Regions from separate parts of the Homo sapiens genome. Here region 1 is linked to region 2. Evidence: promoter capture Hi-C in 16 types of primary human blood cells and fetal thymus (Javierre and others, 2016). All regions are on one chromosome and are shown on one strand. The core of a region is centred on a gene start or on the middle of the fragment in contact, and the rest is flanking DNA. Distances in the headings are between cores, read along the strand shown. Region 1 holds the start of HDX (highly divergent homeobox). Region 2 holds the start of BRWD3 (bromodomain and WD repeat domain containing 3).

What was found. The method cuts DNA at HindIII sites, captures the fragments that hold promoters and counts their contacts. A CHiCAGO score of 5 or more calls a contact.
Region 1: a contact is called between the fragment with the promoter of HDX here and a fragment that was not itself captured in region 2, in 2 of 17 cell types (total B cells and total CD4 T cells). The highest score is 5.6, in total B cells.

What each region holds. Positions count from the first base shown.
Region 1 is chrX:84,501,086-84,507,804 of GRCh38, forward strand. HDX (highly divergent homeobox) reads right to left here and starts at 1,368. Exons shown (of 11, transcript NM_001177479.2): 1 at 1,257-1,368. RefSeq lists a silencer at 1,392-1,541. The HindIII fragment of the contact is 2,765 bases long and covers 1-1,921 here.
Region 2 is chrX:80,805,341-80,811,390 of GRCh38, forward strand. It overlaps BRWD3 (bromodomain and WD repeat domain containing 3), which reads right to left and starts at 4,537. Exons shown (of 41, transcript NM_153252.5): 1 at 4,101-4,537; 2 at 3,906-3,964; 3 at 3,673-3,702; 4 at 3,199-3,258. The coding sequence starts at 4,131. It overlaps LOC124905202 (a long non-coding RNA gene), which reads left to right and starts at 3,468. Exons shown (of 2, transcript XR_007068278.1): 1 at 3,468-3,953. RefSeq lists an enhancer at 4,772-4,851. The HindIII fragment of the contact is 808 bases long and covers 3,210-4,017 here.

The DNA.
Region 1 (6,719 bases), core at 118-2,617, 3.7 Mb after region 2:
AAAATCCAGATTCCTCTGTAAAATTGTCAGGAGTCTATGATCAGACTGTGGAGGGCAATTAATAACAATACTGTACAATCTATTCATCAATAATAGACAGGCAGGTTGTTCTTCATTGTTCCCCACAACTGCTGAGTAATAAAAGCCTTAATATAAGTAATATAACAGCCTTCCCAATGAAGGGGTGCGGGAAAGGGCTTCTCAAAATAATATTTGACTTCAGTGATTCTAGCAGAGACACAGAGGAAGAAGATGGACTCAGCACCAAACTTGATATGGAGACTAAATATTTATAAGAGATTGTCCCAAGAAGAGAAAAAGGCAAGAAAGGAAAATTTCTTACTCTGAGCCTCCACAATGGACTTCATTCTGAGTCTTTCCAAAGAATTTAAGGTTCAAAATCATTGTCACCTCAAATCAGAGCTCCTTTAAGATTAAAAGTTAGATTCATTTGAATAATTAGTGTTTATTTTTCCAAACAGTTTCTTATCTGATAAACTTCTATTTCACAAATTCTTCTAGAGTTCATTCCGTTATTCAACATCTAATATCTGGAAATTTAGAATGTGCCTTCTCAAATTTATAAGGCTCATTTTGAAGCTGGATTTACTCAGTAGGCCAGTTTAAACTAAATGGCAGATCTCTCCCCATCAACTGGTGCTTGAAACATCACAAGGCCTGGGATGTTCCCTGGGTCTCTACTTTCCAAATTCAGCACAGAAATGGCTCAGCCCCACCTCTTCCAGTGAAACCGAAACAGCGCCTGTGCAAACTCCACGCCTATTCTCCTCACAGTGACCCACCCCGCCCCCACCAAGGTGCTAATGCGCAGGCGCTACGCTCTCAGTGCCTTTGAGTAGGGCTGTGAGAAATCTACTGTCCAGTGAAATCTAGAAGTGGTAGAATTCAATCCCCTCCTTTCTTCGGAGGCAGAGGCGCCACTTCCTCCTACTACCCGTCCAGAAGCGCGTCCCAAACATCGCTCTCTCTCCGAGCAAGGTCCTTCGCTCTCTGGCAATCCCCATTGTATCCCTATCCGCAGCTCGTTTCTAATCTCACTCAGCCGCCAGCCTTCGCTAGGAGGATAGAGGCACTTGGCTCCCTAGGATCCGCACCAGTTTTTTGTCTGCCTGTTTAGGCCACGGAACCTATGGACCCCCCCACCCCCAACCTCGCCCCAAACTAGGAAAAGCATTATCCCGGTGCTTTGCCCTCCCTCCTTCGCCCTTCTCACCCACTTAGTGTTGAGTGCTTACCTCGGGTGTGGTGCGGTTACGAAAGGAATCAGCGGAACCCAGATCAGGCCGCTGCTGGGGCAGGCGGATTCAGCGAGATTTTTCCTGGGTCTCCAGTGCCGCTTCAGACAATGAAATCAGCGTGTCCGATCATCAATTCTCATCATGATCGTGACGTCACAAAAGACAGCGGCCAATGGGAGCCTGCGATCAGCTCAGGACAGTCCCTGGCCTCAGCCCAGAACCCAAGAGTTGGGAGGGGGGAAGAGAGATGGCTGCCTGCAACTGGACTGCCTCTTCCTCACACAAATCAGCTACATCTACGGCCAGGGCTCTCTATACCTTCCTGAATAGCTGTGAACACCGAGCATCCCTGTGACTATAGTAGTTACATGCCAGCCATTTGAGCAGGTGCTGCCTGGCCTTCCAACTTGACATTGGGTTTTAACAAAATTGTTACATGCTGCCAAAATCAAATGATAGCATAAGGAAATACAGTCCTTTGTGGTCAGTGTTCGATTGACAGGTAAATATTCAGTTTTACTAAAATCAATAAGGTGTCCATCGAGCCTTTAGAATTTTACAGTAAAAGCAAGTGTACTATTATACGTGACTGGTTGGCTCTGATGACTGAGGAAAGAAACTATGGTTTTTATTCATCCAACCTCAATTCCTATTCTGGCAGAAGCTTCTTGGGTGATCACCATTATACCATTCCAGAAAAGAAGTCAAGCCACATGTTACATCATTTAACAGTCACTTGATATACTTCCCAGATTTGCTGGATGCCATGAGAGATATAGAATTCATTGATTCTCTGCTATCATAGAACTTGCAACATCGTTTGGAAGACAAGATTAGCACACAGTAAATATTCACAACAATAAAATAAAGTACATGATCATGTGCTCAGTCATTAACTACAGACAAGAGCTACATTATTTAATTATTGGAGACATCAGTGAGGTGAAAAGTCAGGGAAGCATTTTATGTAATTAAAACTTGAGATGGTTCTTGAATGGTGGATAAGAGCAGATGGAAGTCACCGTCTTAAAGGGGAAAGATAGGCAAAGGTAGAGACGTATAAATTCATATGATGTGAGGAAGCCCATGATGAAATCAGCTTGACAAATAGAGGGCATATGCTGAGGACTAGTGGTAGATGGAATTGGCTAATAATAAAAGCCTTTGAAAATAGGCAGATAACTTTTATTTGATTAAAAGCCACCAAAAGCCATAAAGCATGTGACCTCAATCCTCTATAGTCAATTATCTACAGAGGAGTTTAGGTGATTTTTTAAAACAAAAGCCAGATTATGCTCAACTTCAGATTGTTCAATGGTTTCCTTTCACATATACAATAAAATGCAGATTTCTTACCATGTCCTCAAAGCCCTAAATGATCTGGCCTCCGCCATCTTTCTGACCTCACCTCCTGTCACTCAGCCACTAATTCACAAATATATTAATCTTCTATTTCTCAAACAAGTCAAGCTCATGTCCACAGCAGTGACCCTGTACTGTTGTACTGTCTGATCTTTATATGACTTACTCCATCACTTGATTGAAATCTTTGCTCAAATGCAACCTCTTTAAAGAGGTTTTCCTATTTAAAATTGTGATATCCTTAACACTCTCTATACCCTTTTTTCTGTTTCATTTTTCTTCATAGTATTTATTATTATTAAATGTATTTTATATATTTAGTTATTGCAAATGTAAGCTCTATGAAGGCAGGGATTTTTGTCTGTTTTGTTTATTATTATATCCCTCAAATCTAGAAAGCCTCTAAATACAAAGTAGACAAATAAGTAAGTACGTATTGAATGAATGACTGAAAGCACATTTTTCAAGTCATTAATTTGCATTTTCAGTAACATTGCGATAGGCTGGAGTGAGAGAGACCAGTTAGACAGTTGTAATGCTAACCCAGCTTCTAGGTGACACACCCCTAGATTAGGGTGTTAAAAATGATGAAATATGAGACTTTCAAAGAAGGAATTATATGGGTAAAGTGGAGGATTCAGAAAAAGCCTATTGATAATTGATTAACGTATTCATAAATTACGTTTATGAATTACCTGAAACTGAAGTGATATGAGAAAAAGGATCAGAGTCCCTACCCTTGAAGGGTTTATAATGCAAAGACACAAGAAGACTTGTATGAAATCACAGTACAAATAGAGGCAATTAAATTAATCCAATTTTTCCTTCCTCTTTTCCCCTCTCACTCTGTAGCTAAGCCACTAGTATGTTTGAAGACTGTACCTTCAAATTAGGCCCCAAATCTGAATACTCTGTACCTCCTCTATCACCGTTACACTAAAGTCACTGTAACTTCTAGTTTGAAATACTGCAAAAGCATCTTACATCGTTTATTTTCTTCCACTCTTGTCCTTCTTCAAAAGTTTCTCTTAACATCAGTCAAAATATTCTTTATAAAGTTTGAATCAGACCATATCACTACCTGATTTAAAGCCCTCCAAATGCATCTCATTACATTAACAATAAAGTCCCAAGTCCTTTCTATGGTGTATTTCCCACCATTTGTTCCTGCCCTGGCTCATTATGCTGTAGCTACTCTGGTCTTTTTGGTTATCTGTTTTCTCTCTGGAATGCCTATTTCCTCTTCAGAGACTTTGCATTTGCTATTATTTCTTGGGAAACTCTTTCCCCAGATCTTCACATAGCATACTTCACATAATTCAGGCTGTCTGCTAAAATGTTACCTTCTCAGATGGGACTTCATGGACCAATCAATTTAAAATAGCATTGCCCCACCACCACCACAATTATCTGTCTCCTGTATCTTCTTGCTGTGCTTAATTTTTCTCATATCACTATGGAAAAATACATTATTAGTTTTGTTGGTTAGTTATTTTGCCTTTCCCCAACAGAATGAAAAGTTCAAGGGGGTAGGAAGTTGCCTCTCTTATTACTGTTATATCTCCAGTACCTAGAGTTGTAGTGGTACCTAGCATTAAGTAGGCACTCAATGGGTCTTTGTTGAATGAATAGATAGGGGAGAGCATAGATTGTGTAGTGCAGTAATAGGTATTCAGGGATGAGAGATGTTTTCAATACATGCCTAAGATACCGGTACCTGTCCTGTTCACAATATATCAATTAAAAGCATGTTTATTGAACTTGTAAGTAAAAAGTATCTAAGTAGAATAATTAAACCATGGATATTAACCAAGATTTCAAAGATCTCAAAAGACTCAACAAACAAATGCAATAAAATGAAGTTTGACATGGATAAACAGTAAGTCTTGATTCTAGGTTTACAAAAATCAGTTGCATAAGTACAGGAAGGGCAATAAACACCTAAGTTGGGAAGTTCATCTAAAAATTCTGTAAATTCAATATGAACTGGTATAACAAAGCTGTTAAACAAGATAATTCATACTTAAACTACATTAATAAAAAGTTATTATCTGAATCAAGAGAGTTAAGGGTTCTACTAGTCTCTACCCTAGTCAGACCACACTTGGTCTCTTCTGTTGATTATCCTTATTTTAAAATAAACATTCACAAATAGCTGCATTTAGAGAAGAAAAACCAGGATGATGAGGCATCTAAAAAATACATGATTTGAGGCAAGTCTCCAGGAGCTGAGGATGCTTAGCTTAAAGAGGAGAAGATCTCAAGAATATATAACTACCTTCAAATATTTGAAAGACTGCTGAGCAAAGACAAATGTGACTTATGTTGTGGTTTTCCAGAGGGCACTACCAAGGCCAAAATGGATAACTGATGGGAAAAAAAAGTCTCAGCTTAAAATTCAAGTGTTCAAAAATGATAGAGACTGTTTTGTAAAGTCAAAAGGCCTCAATCACTGGGAATGTTTCAGTGACCATCAGTCAGCAACGTTGAAGGATTATCTATATTGAGTGACTGCTAAAGTTGATTTCAACACAAAATTTACCGATTTTTGGATTATGTCAGAAGGAAGTTAGTCAGGAAAATGCCTTAAAGAAAAAAGTGAGTTTGGTATTTTAAGATTTGGTTTAGTCTGGTGGAGCTGAATCTAGGTTGGGGTACCACTAATAAAAGATAACCAATTTACTGCTCTCCCATTCTTCATTGGGGGAAAAAAACATGTTCACAGTGCATTTTGGGTGAACATAAAACTGCATACACCAAAGAAAGTTCTCCCAACTTAATTTTTTTCTTAATTTTCCAATTAATAAGGAATTTATTCTTAAGTTCATTTTAACCAACACAATCATTTATTGATATATGTGAGACCTGCCTAAATGAGCCCAGAACACAGCTCTAACCATTGGATTGCTAGGTTTAAAAAACTAACTTTCAATCTACTTAAAGTTACATTAATTTTTCTAGTAGAGCTGATTTTCATTAATCAGAGTCTCTATGCTTTGTTTGTAGGTTATTGAGGCTTTTTTATTCACTTCTATTTTTCTTTTCTCTCTTTTTTTTTAATTTTTAGAGACAGGGTGTTGCTCTGTCACTCAGGCTGGAGTGCAGTGGTGCGATCATAGCTCACTACAGCCTCAAACTCATGGACTCAAGTGATCCTTACACCTTGCCCTTCTAAAATATTCATTGTGATTACAGGCCTGAGCCATTGCACCTGGCAGATTTTTACTTTTATTTTGCCCACCTTTTAGGCCTTTTACAGCTTATTGACAGCTCCATTCAAAGTTGTCCACCAAAAAATGATGAGAAAGCTGAAATTAAGTGTTGTCCTTTTAAATACTTCTGATTTGGAGCAGAAGAAAATAAATTTTAAATTACATGTTAAAGTTATGGTTTCTCTGTGGATTTCAATTATCCATTGCAGCCATGTTATTAGTGTTTTAGTGGAGATGCCATTTGAAGGAACTTTTCTGCTCTTACTGTGGCCAGGTAAAAGTAAACCCTATGATAGAAAACCCTTCTGAATCATTAGTAGACACTGTCCTTCTCTAATTATTCCATAAATAGCCTCTACAGAACACTAAATTTCTATTTTGTATTTCACTTATTAAGATACCTCATTTTATAGACAATGTATACATGACTTGTTCACCTAGAAAATTTTTGAAATAAAACCAATTCTTGAGTGCCACTACGGTTTTTCAGAAGTGATGTATTACTAATATTTCTGGGTTATTTTTCTACTTTAACTAAGCCAATAGTTCTCAACATGTTTTCCCTGGACCAGCAACATCAAAATCACCTGAGAACTCTTTGGAAATGTAAAATCTTGATCCCTACCTACAGATTCAAAAACTGTGAATGGAGGGCCAAGAAATTTGTGTTTTAACAAGCTGTCCAGGAAATACTGATGTATGGTAAAGGTTGAGAACAACTGTATTTAGTTATAACTATGGAAGCAGGGGATATAGAGGCAATTTCATTCTACAAATATTTATTTAGCTTTCATTATGTGCAAGCTACATAGAATTTATGAAAACATGATTTTGGTGTTCAAAATATGCAGTCTAGTAGAACAGCCACAGACTTAAGAATGTAAAA
Region 2 (6,050 bases), core at 2,364-4,863:
TTCAAATGAAAGTATACATATGAACAAAAAGGCAGGATTTTTGTCTCATATATGCAGTATACGTGGCCATGCAACCCCTATTTACTATGTTGATATCCTAGTTAACACTTCATTGTACATTTGTACTCTTTCCTTTTCATACCCCAATACACCTTAAGTTTGTAATGCTGCTATATAATGTAATATTCCAGGTAAATCAAGATGATACTATTAATACTTTGCCCTAAATTTCAATCCAAAACATGCAGCTAAATCAAAGACCACACTTTATAAATCTATCATTCCAATAACAATTTAAAAAATACCTACCCCAGGCCGGGCGCGGTGGCTCATGCCTGTAATCCCAGCACTTTGGGAGGCTGAGGTTTACGAATCACGAGGTCAAGAAATCGAGACCATCCTGGCCAACATGGCGAAACCCCGTCTCTACTAAAAAATACAAAAATTAGCTGGGCGTGGTGGCGCGTGCCTGTAGTCCCAGCTACTTGGGAGGCTGAAGCAGGAGAATCGCTTGAACCTGGGAGGCGGAGGTTGCAGTGAGCCGAGATCCCGCCACTGCACTCCAGCCTGGCAATAGAGCGAGACTCCCTCTCAAAAAAAAGAAAAAAACAAAAACACCTACCCCAAGAAAAAGTATCCCATCTCTTCTACAATGCAGCCACTCAAAATCAGGTCATATGTGAAATAATTTTAATCAAAAATATTACTGACAAACTTAGCAATCAAACCAACACTGCACATTCACTTCTCAGCCACTACACTTCTGTTCAAATTATCACTCAACCCTGCCCATCTTCTCTTACAAAGAAGTCCATAGGTAGAGAACAGACATGTAAAAGAAAACCATGGTATCTAAACTATAATGTTCAAACAACAGAACAAACTCTGTGTACGTAAAAAAAATAGAAAATATAAAAACAGAAAAGAATATTTAAAAGATACGTTAAAATTGAGTATATGTAAGAATTAACAATTTTATTTAATTCCTTAAAGGTTAAGCCTCACTAGTAATGAAAAAAAAAGAGCTACTTAAGTCAACCAGGAGCTATTGCCATCTATTAAATATTAAAGAAACTGAATGATTTAAAGCTATTAAAAAACTCACTCTAAATACCTAGATGATGACATTATAAATTAGTACAATCTTCTGGAGAGCAAACAATATATGACAAGAGCTATAAAACTCATGAGACCCTTTGACCTGGTAACTCCACTTTAGGGAATAAAGTCCAGGAAAATAACTGGGGGCAGAAGGGATAGGGGAGAAAGTAAAAAGCAGAAAAAGACCACCTAACTATGCAAAGTTATTAGTAAAAATCTGGAAGTAGCTCAAATGCTCAACTGGAAGCTTGGTTCAAATCATATCGTACCTTAAATACAACTGAATTTTTTCTTACCATTAAAATAATGATGACTATTCAAATACACAAGTACATTTTTAAATGTTAAGAAAAATATGAAGCATAAAATGGACACTGATCACAATTATGTAAAAATGTCTTTACAATATGAGGAAAAGTCTAGTAAACTGGGTTGTTGGGGTTTTTTTGGTGAGGAGACTATTTTTTAATTACTTTGATTTTCATTTCCTTTTTATCACTGTCAAGTTAGTTTCAAAAAAGCTTTTTCCTTTTAATCTCCTTTGCCACTTGCTTAAAATAACACATATAGGCTGTGAGAAGGACAAATGTAAAGGAAAACATTTTCAATACACCTCAGTATTAAAACTATATATAAAAACCTGTATCAGTCATTAAGTGTTAAAACATATTAGTAGGCACTGTTGTTTTTGCCTCTTTTAGGGGGAGGGAAAGACTTAAGTCCAACAGAAAGACTGACTACAAATTAACCTGGCAGTACATGAAGTTTTTCAAAACTAATTTTTCTCCATCTGAGAAATTGTTACTATTAATAATACAGATGGTCGAGTTTACCCTTATCACAATTATACCATTTTCTGTGATTTGCAAAATATAAGAAAACTATACAGTCGGTAGACTTGATAATAATAATGTGGCCTCACTGTTGTAAGATAACACAAACAAAAATAACAAAATGAACATTGAAGCAATTTAAATATAGTCTTATTGCAAGCAAATTTTAAATCATTTATATTTAGAGTCTATCATACACCGCCAACTTTCTTTAACTTTGTCCGATTTTCCTCCACTTGGATCTTACTTGAAGGAAAGATAGCTGAATTTAGATTTTAGTAACATCATTCCTTTCTCCTTTCACTACCCTCCAATGCACTGTGGCAGCAGCTAACACAAGGGAACCTCCCCCGCAAAATAAAAAGGATCACCTGTTTTTGTGTGTCAATGCTGAACACAAGGTACATTTATACTATGAATTATATTTGCAGGAGAAACAACATAGACCAATGCCTTTGGTCCTTCACTAAAGTATATTCCATTTTTAAATATGTCCATTGTTGTCTCCTTGTAAACCCAAAATCGTGTTTCACCAATTCTCAAAAAGTGATAACTCAGTTTCTATTTAGTGAAAACGGGTCTATGCAAATGCGACTTAACTGATAATTGAATGAGCTTATAAAATCGGAGATACGTAACGATTATGCTTTTACTCAGTAGACCATTACCTAACCGGCAAAATTTGAAATTGGCTTGACGCTCCTTATTATTTTTAATTATGTCGTTTTTCCTAATCCCTGGTCCGTCAATTCCCCTCCAGAGCCCCTTCCTCCCACGCCTCCCCCCTGCCCCCCCGCCCCCCCCAAAAAAGACCAAGCCTGGCCTTAGTTCCCGTATTTCAGGCCAGGACCAACCAGAAACCAGTTTTCTTCCACTAATCCGGAACTCCGGGCTGTTACCAACGCTGTCATTGGCCAGCGTCAGACCTTAGTACGTGCCCCAAGATAACCCCTTGGTTTCTCTCCCTTTTCCGCCTACAATGGGCCTTCCCCAATGTTTGTAACATATTCATAATCCACAACACGGCACCTCTGATAATCAACTCACATTCTTCAAAGTTTTCGGGTGGAAACAAGCAGGGCCAAGGGGAGGGCAAGGTACCCTTTTTCCGACTAGCAGGGATGGGGGAAGGGGCAGTCGTTCTTTGGCTCTGCACCGAGCTCTAGAACCTCGTCGGCTGAGAGGTGGGGGGCGGGTTGGGGGTACAAGGTGGGGAGGGAGTGGTGAAAGAGTTAGGTTAAGTTGAAATGAAAACTTTACTCACCAGATCCTCGAAGCTTCTTCGGTGCTCTTTCCCCTCCCAATCTAAGCGGCGCGGAATCAGCTGGGGGCCGGACGAAAAGAAAGGGGGAAGCGGAGGCAAATGATGAAGGAAAAGCCTCCGCTCCCCATCAACTGGACCCAACCTGTGTCCCAGTCCTCAACACTTTACCGTCTTTATTTCTCTCGGCCTGATAGCTATTGGCTCAGAGCTAGACAAGTATATGGGGGGGGGGGGGAAGGGGGGTCGAGAAGGAAATCCTGAAAAACTGCCTCCCACAAGCATAAAGCGGGGACGAGTTAAGACCCCAGCGTTGTCTGCCCCTTTTGAGGGAAGAAGCCAATTCACCCCGGTGACAACAGCTACGGGTACCCAGATCGAAGCCTCTATCCCAGCCCGTCTTCCGCCCCTGACTTGCCCTCCCCTTCCTCCAGTCTCACCTCAACCCTCCCCACCCTTCCCGAAGGGGCTCCGTACCTGATGCTCCTCGAGCTCCTGCACTAGCACCTGAGCAAAAGGGAAACACAGATATGAGGAGCAGCTCGGGCCATCAACCCATTCCTCCCTCCACACTTAAAGCCCAGCCGCTGACCGTTTGACTAGTCAAGGCCGGCCTTTCCCTCACCCTCAACGGAACTGCTCGTCCCGCTGCCTCGATTTCCCCACTGGGACCATTCACCACGACTCCCAGATCTCTTTCTTCCCCTTACCTGAGCGGATTTGTTGCAGGGTCCAGACTGCAAGAACCTAGCGATCAGGTAATACAGCTCTGGGGAAGAGGGGGGAAAAGAGGTTCAGAGGGAGGTAGAGAAGAGAAATAGAAGCTTTTTCAAAAGAAACTGACAGCCTTCGCGCTAAGCCCCCATTCCCTTAGCACCCCCCCACCCCCCGACACAGCTACCCACCGGCTTCGATCTGGGTAGGTGCTGCCGCCATCCTTTTCCCGAGGGGGTTTGGGGGCTTCGCTCCGGAGGGGCTGGCGGGGGCGGGTGGGGGCGCTGCCTCTATTGTGGTGAAGCCCCCATGCCCGGGAGTCCCGCCGCTTCCGCCGCACTCCTCGTCCTAGTTTCGCTCTCTCTCGAATTCATCGCATCACGTTTCGACCCATAGATATTCTAGCCCAAGAGCTGAGGAGGCGGAGGAGGAAGGAGAGGAGAGGGAGAGGGAGAGAGAGAGTGAGTGAGTGAGAGAGAGAGAGAGAAGAGAGAGAGAGAGAGAGGAAAAAGAGAGAGAGAGAGAGAGAGAGAGAGAGAGAGAGAGAGAGAGAGACGCGGGGGGTGGGGGGGCGGAGAGAGAGAGAGAGAGAGAGATAGACGGAGCGAGAAGAGGGAGGAGCCGAAGTGGCGAAGAGGTGGGCGGGGGCAAAGGGGGTGGAGAGAGGGGAGGGTAAAAATGGTGATAGGGTTTTGCAGCGCTCATAGTTCCCCGCTAGAGGCACTAATACAGCAGCTGAGCCTAGACTCTCCCGGAGCCCGATGGTTGCTTAGCTACAGCTCTGGGAAGGAGGGGGAGGTGCTAACTGACGGCCGACGCTCTGGCAGCCGCCTTGGAACTCTGTGGTGGCATTCGCGTCTGCGAGCTCCGGAGTGACTTTCCCTTCCTGTGAAGGCAATCCGGCCCTTTCCGGTGGAGGACCCTTCCCCCTGGGTTGATCTTGAGGAACTTAAGAGACGGTGTTTTGACTCGACTCCTTTCCCCTTTTTCCTCCCGGTACCAAAGCGGTTTTGTTTGCTGTTTATACTCTACCCCGTGGAAAGGCGGCTAGCTGGCTAAAGGGTTTTATGCCTGGGGGAGGATGAGTCGCTATTTGGTCGTGACTTGTTTCTGTTTAAAATTATTATTATTTACCAAATGAAAATGTTGTACTTACCAGTCCAAAGTGCGGGGCTTATATTGTTAGAAGACCACTTAAAATGCTCCTGGATTCTGACAAATATTGCATGAGAAATTTGCAATCAGCCGTGAAGCATGTTTCCCCTTCTGAAAGTTTAACACGTGCCGTATCTACGGCTGGGATCTAACACATCCCATTCCTACAGGGTAATTTCCTATTGTGTTTTCAAATACTACTAAAGTACTTTAACCAAGAGTTTTCAATAATCTTTATGTATTATTGCCTATCTCTATGCAAGGTATCAATAGTTTTCTACAGGTTCGGGACTACACTGTTTAATATATAACCCCAACCCTTGGTACCGCACTGACCTTCAGTATTTGGTTGCTGAAATCTTCAATGATGAAAGGGGTTGGTATGATAATTGACACAGATTAGTAAACCGGGTCCTTTTCTTCCCTACTTTCCCGTAACATCCTGTCCCCACCCCACTCCCTCACCTAAACCTGATGAGACCAGAAATGCATTTTAAGTTGCATGTATTATTTACATTGAAATATTACAATTTGAAGGTTCATCTAAATTTAAGGCTATATTCTTGGGAATTGGGTTTCCTCACTCAGCTCTGCCACTGACCACAGTGGGCCTTGAATTTCTAAGTTGACATAAACTTAGCCTAGGTTGATTAGCTCTCACTTGTAATTTTTTTTTTTCCTCAGAAAGCAATAACCACAGGAGGTAATTGTGAAGTGATAGGCTTATCTTTGGTTGTTATTGCCATGGAACTTGACAAAACAAATATGAATAATTGATACAACAAAATGATATAAAAAGATACATGAGACCTAGACAACTCATTGCAAGTAGTTTAGCAAAATACCAGACTGAATAATTTTATAGTTGAAGTATAATGTACAGGTTGAGTATTCTTTATCCAAAGTGCTTGGGACCAGAAATGTTTTGGATTTTGGACTTTTTCAGATTTTGGAATATTTGCATATACATAATGAGATATTTCAGC